3 separate regions of the Homo sapiens genome follow, and regions 2 and 3 are each linked to region 1. The links are contacts of gene promoters, found by promoter capture Hi-C in human tissues and cell types (Jung and others, 2019). All regions are on one chromosome and are shown on one strand. Each heading gives the region's core, a stretch centred on a gene start or on the middle of the fragment in contact. The rest is flanking DNA. Distances are from core to core; before and after follow the strand shown. Region 1 holds the start of SLC25A31 (solute carrier family 25 member 31). Region 2 overlaps INTU (inturned planar cell polarity protein). Region 3 overlaps INTU (inturned planar cell polarity protein).

Region 1 (3,708 bases), core at 83-2,582:
GAGGGGCTTCGGAAACGGAAGGACCCTAAAGTTTTGTTTGTTTTTTTGAGACAGGGTCTCACTCCTTCATCCAGGCTGGAGTGCGGTGGCGCGATCTGGGCTCCCTGAAATCCCCGCATCAGGGTCCCGCAAGTAGCTGGGACTGCAGGCGTGCGCCACCACGCCCGGCTAATTTTTGTATATTTAGCATAGACTGGGTTTCGCCATGTTAGTCAGGCTTGTCTAGAACTCCTGAGCTCGAGCTCAAGTGATCCGCCCGCCTCGGCCTTCCAAAGTGCTAGGATTATAGGCGTGAGCCACCGCGCCTGGCCTTAAAATACTTTTTATCTTGATGACTGAGGGTTGGGTTTTTTTTTTTTAGGGCCCCCTTGAATTTTGGGCAGAACGAAGTACCCCCTTGGTCTTCAGTAGAATAAGCAGAACCTCTTTTCACTAATAGGTTTCAGAGTACTGGTAAGCCCTAGTGCTCCCATATTTGTACTTCTCTTAGACATACTATTTCAACAAATATACATATAGATTTTGACTCAAGGTCTCCTCTGTCGCCCATGCTGGAGCATAGTGGGGTGATTATACCAACAAATATTTAAGCAACTTAGAGCACTAGTTATAGCAGAGTGCCTAATGGCATCTCCCTCAATCCTGGGAGGTCAACCACTCTCCTTCTGGACCTGGCACAGGTGCACCAAGGTGTAAATCGCACTGCAGATTTAGAGAAAGAGAAGGCAGTGGTCTCCCCGGTACCAGGACTTGGTCAGGACCAACGCGGCCCTGGAAAAGCAGAGCCTGTTAGGTTCAGAAACTAAATTCTGGAAGGGTAAGAAGCAAATTCATCACCGACAGCTGTAGCTGTGGTTGTGGGGCCCACAATCATGCCCCTCCCAGCCACCCTCTTCTCTGGGAAGCTGACGAGGGCGCCGGGAGAGGCTGTCGGGGCGGCCTGCCTTGACGCACCCTGCTCGCGAGGAATCCGCACCAGGCAGTCCACCATGCCTTTGTACCGCGCCTCGGGGCTGATCTGCTTCGACGACGCCTGCACCTGCAGCAGCAGCTTCACCCGCTCGATGGGCGCCACCGCTGTCTTGGACACAGCTGCCGCGACTCCGCCGGCCAGAAGGTCCTTCCCGAAGGATGAGGCGTCAAACAGCCGCTTTTCTGCCTTCTTTTTCGCAGGCTCACGATGCATGATGGAGAAGGATATAAAAACCGGCAGCAGTGGCTAAAAATGAGTACGGGAGCTACGATGAAGGGAAGCGGAAAACCGGAAAACCGCTGCAGCATCGTACTGGCGAGAAAGTGGCTCTTGGGACGCTGAGAGAGCCGCGCGCCGGCGAGGCGCGTGCGGAAAAGCTGCGCAGGCGCTCCAACGGCCTCCAGCCACGTGACGCCTGACACGTGACACCTGACACGTGACTCCTGACACGTGGCTCCTGGATGCGCGGTGACGCCTGCGCACTTCTACGAGCGGAGCCTGGGCTTTCTGATGAGGGAGGGGTCCGGAGGCGGTGAGCATTGAGCAGGAAAGGCGAGGGGAGGGGCCGAGGAGAGCCAGTTCTGTGTGAAGAAATTTAGTAGCTGAGACTAGGCCAGAGCAGTAAACCAGCGGTGTGAGATTAACAGAATTTAGTTTTAGTTCCTAGTGTTACCCCCTTCACTTTCTTAATCGCTTTAATCCGTTACGTTTTTTTTGACCAGAGATGGTTCCTTTGACCTTTCTTGGCATCTTAAAAAAGACAGTCTTACCTGTTGTGTGATTCAAGTGATGTTCCCCTTAAATTTCACCCTATGTGCCTGTTAATGCTTCAAATTCCCTTGGAAATTGCTTTAATCTGTTCCTTTAATTAAGCAGGGATCCTTTGTCTAGTCACTTTCTGTGTCGTTTTGATGATTGTGCCCCCATAGCATAATACATGTTCCTCTTTTTCATATTGTATTTAAATTGATAATATCCAGAGCAGTGGTTCTCAATCCAGACTGCACATTCAAGGGGATGAGGGGTGTTTTGTTTTGTTTTTCAAATTGATGCTTGGGATTAGGCCCTGCACATTAAATCAGAACGTCTAGAAGTGAGGCCTGGCATCAGTATTTAAATTCTCCAGGTAATTCTAGTGTTTGAAGTAATTCTAATTCTAGGGTTGAGGGCCAATGACCTATCTAGAAGAGTAGTTCACAAACTTTTCGATTGCAGGACCCCTCTTTTTCACTCTGAAAAATTATTGAAGGCCAGGTACCAGTAATCCCAAAACTTTGGGCCAAGTCCAGCCTGGGCAACATAGTGAGACCCCTCCTTTACAAAAAAAAAAATAGCTGGGCGTGGCTGCACAAGCCTGTAGTCCTAAGTATAGCTACTTAGGAGGCTAAGACAGGAGAAATGCTTGAGCCCTGGAGTTGTAGGCTGCAGTGAGTTATTATCTCACCACTGTGCTCCAGCCTGGGCAACAGAGCAGGACCCTGTCTCTTAAAAAAAATTATTGAAGACACAATGAAGCTTCCGTTTTTATTATGTATATTGGCATTTACCACTCAGAAATTAAAACACGATTTAAAAATATTTAATTCATTTAAAATAAAAATAATCCATTACAGGATAGCATAAGTACGACTTTTAAATAAAAAATGTAGTAGAAAAATAGTATTGTTTTATATTTTTGAATCTCTAATGTCTGATTTAATAAAAGACAGCTAGATTCACATTACTGCTTTTGCATTCAGTCTGTTGTGATATCATACATGTAGCCACTGGAAAACTCCACTGTTTATTCAGGACAGAATGAAAGTGAAAAAGGCAAATAATAGTATCATTTAAGAAAATACCTTTGACTTCATGGTGTTCCTGTCTCCGTGACACAGAGGGGTTTTCTAAACTGCACTTTGAGAACTCATTTAGAGGAGGTTGGCAGATTCAGGTTTGACTTCTTTCGGCAAAAATACTCAGTAGAGGTACGTCTAGCCTGTACATAACATTTGTCTTTTTCTTTCACCTCACTTTTTTCACTTAATATATCGTGGAGATCCTTCTATAGTAGCATTTAATATATCCCTTTTTACAGCTCGTTTGGTGTTTTGAAATAAATGGAGATCCCATCTTATCACCTCTTACTCTGTAGGACCTGCAGAGCCTTACAACACATCTATAAAATGTGAAATGAGTTTTTAGCTTTTTTTGAATGTTAGGTTCTAATTTTTCCTTTGTCTTATGTGTTATAACCCTTCTACTAGTACTTGTCACTAGTAAAAAACCATTTAGGTCAGAAGGATTCCAGACCAGGAATGTTGTCAATATTTTGATTACCTCACATAAAATCAGTTGGCAAGTCCTACTGATATCATATGTTTGGTGCTACTTCCTTTCCATGGTGGCTTATTCAACCTTTTTTTTTGAGACAGAGTCTCGCTCTGTTGCCCAGGCTGGAATGCAGTGGTGCAATATTGGCTCACTGAAACCCGGGTTTCAAGCAATTCTCCTGCCTCCGCCTCCCAAATGGCTGGGATTACAGGCATCCACCACAACACCCAGCTAAGTTTTGTATTTTTAGTGGAGACAGGGTTTCACCATGTTGGCCAGGCTGGTCTCAAACTCCTGACCTCAAGTGATCCACCCGCCTTGGCCTCCCAAAGTGCTGGGATTACAGGCATGAGCCACCACGCCCGACCGGCTTATTCAACTCTTAACTGGGTTTTCCAACTCGAATCTCTGTTTCTCTCTTT
Region 2 (3,547 bases), core at 387-2,886, 41 kb after region 1:
ATGATGGACTTTGGGTTATTATGATGTGTCAATGTAGGTTCATCAATTATAACAACTGTACCCCTGTGGTGGGGAATGTTGATAATGGAGAGGCTATGCATGTATGATGTATGGGGGAAGGGGGTACGTGGGAAATCTGTACCTTTCTCTCAATTTTACTGTGAACCTAAAACTGCAGTAAAAAATAGAATAAAAAAAACTTCAAATGTTATTGTTGTTCAAATTTTATATTAATCAAATAGAGCTTTAGACTACTTTAGCAAAAGGTATCTAGCTCTCTTCCCAAAAGTATTGTTCTTAATCTCCTAACTGGACTACAAAATGTAGAAAACATCTAAGCCAGATCCTCACTGTTTCCTGTGTATTAATTTCACCTGCTCAACCTGACTGTGAACATCTAGAGGTTTTTCTGGATTCTGCAAAGCATGGCACAGACTTGAGCAACCGGCACAATGAACACTGATCTCCACACAGCAGTGTTAGACGTAACAAGGATAAAAGCAGCCAAAGCACTGGCAAGATAAGCAACAGCTATGGTTTAAGGCAATGAATTAAAAATGTATACCAGAATTCACACAGTGATTTCTTAATTTGATATTCTTTTAGGGTGAAATAAAGAAAAGCATATAAATCTTTTAAAGAAATATATGCTAAATTAACAAAAATCTCAATGAAAAAGAGGTAGCCTTCACATGGAATCTGTAAGCCCCAAATAGACAATACTTTAGAACATCTTAAACTTCTTCGAGGGAAGATAATATTTAATGTATCTAAATTCTAAACACACTGCCCCTAAAACATTAAGTACCTCTACTATCACAGAAAGAAGGGACTATATATTTTGAGGGAAGAGGTTTCTTTAATGAAGAAATTCTGACAGAGGGGCAAGAACCTAAGTAATGGCCAGGTAGAATGGCAAGCCTCACGAGATGGTACCTTCTGACTCATGAAGTGGGCATGGGCCCTGTGACTGAGGATAAAAGACCCCAGAATGGGCATGAGACAGTCTTTGGAACCAGGGTCTTTCTCTTTTAAAGGTAAAGTTATCTAGTTACTTTCTATGTTTCTATCTATATCGAACACTTATATCCTTCCCTTCCCTTCCCTTGCCTCTTCCCTCCCCCTTTCCTTTCCCCTTTCTTTCTCCTTTCCTTTTTCCTTTTCTCTTCCCTTTTCCCTCTTCTTTTTCCTTTTCCTTTCCTTTCCTGAGATAGGGTCTCATTCTGTTGCCCCACCGTAGTGCAGTGGTGCAATCATAGCTCACTGCAACTATGATTGAGTGGGGAGCCCAACTCCTGGGTTCAAGTAATCCTCCCACCTCAGCCTACTGAGTAGCTGGAATACAGGTGTGTGCCACCATGCTCTGCTAATGTTTAAAGTTTTTGTGGAGATAGGGTCTCCATATGTTGTCCAGGCTGGTCTTGAACTCTTGGCCTCAAGTGATCCTCCCACCTCAGTCTCCCAAAGCACGAGGATTACAGGCATGAGCCACCATGCCCAGCCAATGCTTATATATTCTTATGAAAATATTAGGTAGAATTATATATCTCATACTTCTTAGTTTTTTATACAATTTAAGAAAATGGTAGGCCAGGTGCCATGGCTCATGCCTGTAATCCAGCACTCTAGGAGACTGAGGCGGGCAGATTGCTTGAGCTCAGGAGTTCGAGACCAGCCTGGGAAACATGGAGAAACCTGGTCTCTACTTAAAAATACAAAAATTAGCCAGGCATGGTGGTGTGCATGTGTAGTCCCAGCTACCTGAGAGGCTGAGGTGAGAAGATCACCCGAGCCTGGGATGTGGAGGCTGCAGTGAGCTATGATCATGCCACTGCACTCCCACTCCAGCTGGGGTGACAAAGCAAGACCCTGTCTCAAAAAAAAAAAAAAAAAAAAAAAGAAAGAAAGAAAAGAAAAAGAAAGAAAGAAAGGAAAGGGTAATTATTGTCCTGAAATATCAAAAGACCAGGCAGTTGATAGAGCTAAGGACAAAAAAAATACCAGAAGGCAAAGCATCTTTTGAACATGCTCTAACACCTCATCTCCTTTCAAATAGTAATTGTATAATAATGCTCCCATAACTACAACTACAATGTGCCGGGCACAATTCTAAATACTTCACGTGTAATAACTCATAAATCTTCCATGAAGTAGGGACTATTATTTCCTCCATTTTACAGATGAGGAAACTGAGCAAAGTGATTGATACATCAATTTAAATAACTATTAAGCTGTCAAAAAGGCATTTATTTGATCATACATTGTAGAGTCTTATGAAGAGTAGGAACTTGAATTAGGTTTCTACTGTAACATAGCCTAGGTTTCTTCAAGAGCAGAGAAGTGGCTATGGCATAATGCCTCATTTAATACTAATACAAATGCTGTAACTAAATAGATTATATGGTGATCTACACTGATGAAAATGTCTGAAATAATCTTGTCAATCATTCAATAATAAAGTTATTCTAGGTTCACAGATATAACTAAAATCATATTGATAATTCTTAACCGTCATACAGTTTTACTATTGGTATGCGATCCATGGGACAAGCCAAAAGCTAATCACATATGTTCATGTAAAAAAAGATTTTGGTAGACTAGTGGACTTTGTATTTTAACTGAGAATACTGTTAGTCAACCATGTCATCCACTTTTTTTTTTTTTGTACAGAAACATAATTCTAACTTGATAACCTTACATTATAAAATCAAAGTCACAAAATTCCAAAGTAAGACACACCATTTAATTACGATTTCTGAAAAGTAGTCCTAGCTTGGATAAAGCTTAAATTTAAAAGTAAGAGGAGAGAGCTAATTTCTACTTATAAAGGATAATTTCTCTTTCTGGGTTTATTGCACTGGACCTCCTACTTTGTCAACCAATTGCCTCTTTAATTTTTAACCATAATTCCAAAAATAACAAAAAGTCTACGAAAAAAAGAGAAGATACAAGATTATAATAAGGCACCTGGTTCTGCTTCTGCTTTATAATACCTAAGATTACCTTGATTTCCAGTGGAAGTGTGAGCCACCGGACTCCAGGGAGGTTGTCTAAAAGTACTGCACTGGAAGCATCGTACTGCTGAGCACTGGGACTGGCGCTGGAATGCAGTTTCGCAGGCTGAAGTGCTCTTTGAAAGAACAAGTTAAAAAAATGATCCAAACGAGGAACATTCTCAATCTGGCAAAAGGCACTGGAGAAATAAGAGCTGTAAGTTAGAACGACATATGGAAATGGTGGTCATTTTTTGTGTGCTCCTAAGGGAACTGGATCTTTCCCAACTACATAGGCTATCTTCCTCACTCCTCTCTTCCTTCAATAGAATTGCTGCTAGAATGTTACTGACGGATTGTGTAAAGAAATTTACCCTGTCCAAACTTTTTACCCTAAAACCTACTCTCAAGTGTATCAAGTAGATGGCTCTATGGAAGAACCACAGGGCTAACACAAGTGACATATTTATAAAAGAAAGGGCTGAAGTACCCTTTTTGTAAAAAATGTAGGTTGTTTTTACCTCTGACTGTCTTTTAACCATTTACAACTCCTG
Region 3 (3,524 bases), core at 726-3,225, 59 kb after region 1:
GACACAAATATATAAACAAGTAACCAAAATGTAAGTCAGATTTAAATGTGTTCTCAAGGAAACTTTTGGGGTGATGAATGTATTCACTGTGTCGATAGTTTCAGGGTATACACCTATGTGGAAACTATTCAAATTGTACATTTTACATATGTTCAGTTTACTTCATTATACTTCAGTGAAGTTTTAAAAATTTAATTATGTTCTAAAAAGAGAAACAATAATGAACTATGATAATAAAGAGAACTTAAGTGTGTGGAATTTAAAATATAAATTATAAAATAAATTTTTTCACACAGAACATTGCTTTTGTCTTAATACTTTTAGAAATGCATACACTTTCAGACAAATATTAGCCTCTTATAGTATACTAATATTACTATAGTTTAAAAAGTGTGTATGCAACAAAAGATACACACATTGCTAAGGAACCCCTAAAATAATTTTCATATTTATTACCTTCTTAAAAAAGTTTTTCTAGCTGTATTTACTGCTTTCCACAATTAACCCATATCTCATGGTTAATAACAAAATCTAAATATTAGGTAAAATAACATCTATTCTTTACAGTAGAAAAAATAAAGGCAAAAAAAAAAAAAAAAGCAACACCGCACAGAGAAACTTAAATTTTCTTTCTAATGAGACTGAAAAGGAGGAATGCACCTCCTTATGCTAAATGAAAGAAGCCAGTCACAAATAGCCACACATTATATGATTCCATTCATATGTAATATCCAGAACAGGGATATCTATAGGAATGGAAAGTAGATTAGCAGTTGCCCAGGGGTTGGGCTGGCTGAGCTAAAGGGTATAGGATTTCTTTCTGAGGTGAGAAAAATGTTTTAAAATTGAGTTTGATGAGGGTTGCGCATATCTGTGAATACACCAAAAAGCATTTACTTGTACACTTTAAAATTTATTATTTGTATATATTTAGGGAGTACAAGTACAGTTTTAATAGATGGATGTTGCATGGTGGTGAAGTCTGGGCTTTTAGTGTAACCATCACCTAAGGAGTGTACATTGTATCCATTAAGTAGTTTTTCATTTCTGACTCCCCTCCCGCCCTTCAAAAGCTCCAATGTCTGTTATTTTACACTCTATGTCCATGTGTATACATTATTTAGCCCCCATTTATAAGTGAGAATATGTGATATTTGACTTTCTGTTTGAGTTGTTTCACTTAAGATAATGGCCTCCAGTTCTATCTACGTTGCTGCAAATGACATGATTTCATTCTCTGTTATTTATTCCATTTATTTATTTAATTTACTCCATTTATTTATTTGTTCTTTTTTATTCCATAGTATATACATACACCACATTTTCTTTATCCAGTCATCTGTTGATGGATGCTTAGATTGATTCCATTATCTTTGCTATTGTGAATAGCACTCATAAATATATGAGTGCAGGTACCTTTTTGATATAATGATTTCTTTTCCTTTGGTTATATACCAAGTCATGGGGTTACTGGATCAAATTGTAGTTCTATTTTTAGTTTTTTGAGAAATCTCCATACTGTTTTCTGTAGAGGTTGTACTCATTTACAATTCCACCAGCACTGTATAAGCATTCCCTTTTCTCTGCATCCTCACCAGCATCTGTTATTTTTTGACCTTTTAATAATAGCCATTCTGACTGGTGTAAGATGTTATCTCATTGTGCTTTTAATTTGCATTTCTCTGATGATTAGTGATGAGCATTTTTTCATATGCACGTTATCCATTTGTATGTCTTCTTTTAAAAAATGTCTGTTCATGTCCTTTGCCCACTTTTTAATGGGGTTATTTGTTGTTTTCTTGTTGAGTTGTCTGAGTTCCTTATATAGATTCTGGATATTAGTCAGTTGGTGGATGTGCAATTTGCAAATATTTTCTCTCATTCCGCAGGCTATCTATTGACTCTGGACTATTTCTTTTGCTGTGTAGAAACTTTTCAGTTTAATTAAGACCTACTTATCTATTTTTTGGTTTTGTTGCATTTGCTTTTGAGGTCTTACTAATGAATTATTTGCCTAGGTCAAAGTCCAGAAGAGTGTTTCCTAGGTTTTCTTCTAGCATTTTTATAGTGTCAGGCATTACACTTAAGTCTTTAATCTAACTTGAGTTCATTTTTGTATATGGTGAGAGAGATGGGTTCAGTTTCATTCTTTTGCATATGGCTATCCAACTTTCCCAGCACCATTTATTGAATAGGGTGTGCTTTCCCCAGTGTATATTTTTGTCAACTTTGTCAAAGGTCAATTGGCTATAGGCATGTGGCTTTATTTCTGTGTTCTCTGTTCTGTTCCATTGATCTATGTCTATTTTTATACCAGTACCATGCTGTTTTGGGTTACTATAGAAAGCCTTGTAGCATAATTTGAAGTCAGGTGATGTGATGCCTCCAAGTTTTGTTCTTTTTGCTTAGGACTGCTTTGGCTATTCAGGCTCTTTTTTGGTTCCATACCAATTTTAGGATTACACATGCACTTCAAATGGGTGAATTGTATCACTTATGTACTATATCTCAATAAAGATTTTTAAAAAATAAAAAGAGGCCTGCAATATGCTTTTATGAACCCAAATTTATAAACTAAATAGAGCCTCCAGTACTACTGTATTGAAAATAAACTAACAGTTTGTATATACACTATATTAAAGTCACATAGTTAAACATGACTTTTAATTAGTTAAAACATAAAATTCTTCTGTCTATTGCCTTGTAGATTCTACCTCTTTTAAAATCATAGAAATGTCATTTCTACCTGAATATGGGGGAAAAAAAGTTAAAGCCTAGAAAATCCAACTTGATATTTTTTCAGTATTACGGAGGCTGTTGAAATTTGAGATAAAATTTCCTTGTAAAGTCTAAAATTGTTGAAATAATAAGGAAGAAAAATTGTTTATAATTCTTAGATTTATTTTATGAAAAAAAACACAAAACCTAAAAGCTTTGAGCCTTTTCCTCCCATAAATTAACTATGGCATTTCAATGTCAGGGCTTAATAAATCAATGGAATGGGTATTTGACTCTATAATTGACTATATTAAGAGTTCTAAATATAAAATTATTTGACATCAATGTTGCTCATCCATCATTAACTACACTGATGACGAATGCATCTGTCCTATTTGTCTATTTTTGGTTTTGCTGCATTTGCTTTTGAGGTCTTAGTCATGAATTATTTGCCTAGGCCAATGTCCAGAAGCATTTTTCCTAGGTTTTCCTCTAGCATTTCTATAGTGTCAAGTCTTCCTTTTAAGCCTTTAACCTAAATCAAGTTAGATTAAAGGGACAAATGGGAGCTAAATAATGTGTACACATGGACATAGAATGTGGAATAACAGACATTGGAGATTTTGAAGGGTGGGAGGGCAGGAAAATTCACAGATTATGAATAGCCCTCCTAAAGAACATTTTGTATTTTTCTATCATTGTTGTAAGAACAGAATATGTCCTAACTATATGACCAATTTTCGTGTTCAGTCATTCTTGCCAATTCTGTTTGCCACAAAGGTATTGCCTAGGAAGTTAACAATCAA

What was found. Contacts are between HindIII fragments. The study calls those that stand out against the background at their distance.
Region 2: a fragment that was not itself captured here is called in contact with the fragment with the promoter of SLC25A31 in region 1 in 1 of the 25 tissues and cell types used here (dorsolateral prefrontal cortex).
Region 3: a fragment that was not itself captured here is called in contact with the fragment with the promoter of SLC25A31 in region 1 in 2 of the 25 tissues and cell types used here (adrenal gland and hippocampus).

Annotation. Positions count from the first base shown.
Region 1 is chr4:127,728,024-127,731,731 of GRCh38, reverse strand. SLC25A31 (solute carrier family 25 member 31) reads right to left here and starts at 1,332. Exons shown (of 6, transcript NM_031291.4): 1 at 955-1,332. The coding sequence starts at 1,186. RefSeq lists a silencer at 1,455-1,612. The HindIII fragment of the contact is 3,983 bases long and covers 1-3,125 here.
Region 2 is chr4:127,687,324-127,690,870 of GRCh38, reverse strand. It overlaps INTU (inturned planar cell polarity protein), which reads right to left. Exons shown (of 16, transcript NM_015693.4): 8 at 3,004-3,193. Among named protein-coding and RNA genes, the nearest start is that of SLC25A31, 41 kb to the left of the region's middle. RefSeq lists an enhancer at 2,985-3,547. The HindIII fragment of the contact is 6,211 bases long and covers 1-3,547 here.
Region 3 is chr4:127,669,543-127,673,066 of GRCh38, reverse strand. All of the region lies in intron 5 of INTU (inturned planar cell polarity protein), which reads right to left. Among named protein-coding and RNA genes, the nearest start is that of INTU, 38 kb to the right of the region's middle. The HindIII fragment of the contact is 4,484 bases long and covers 1-3,524 here.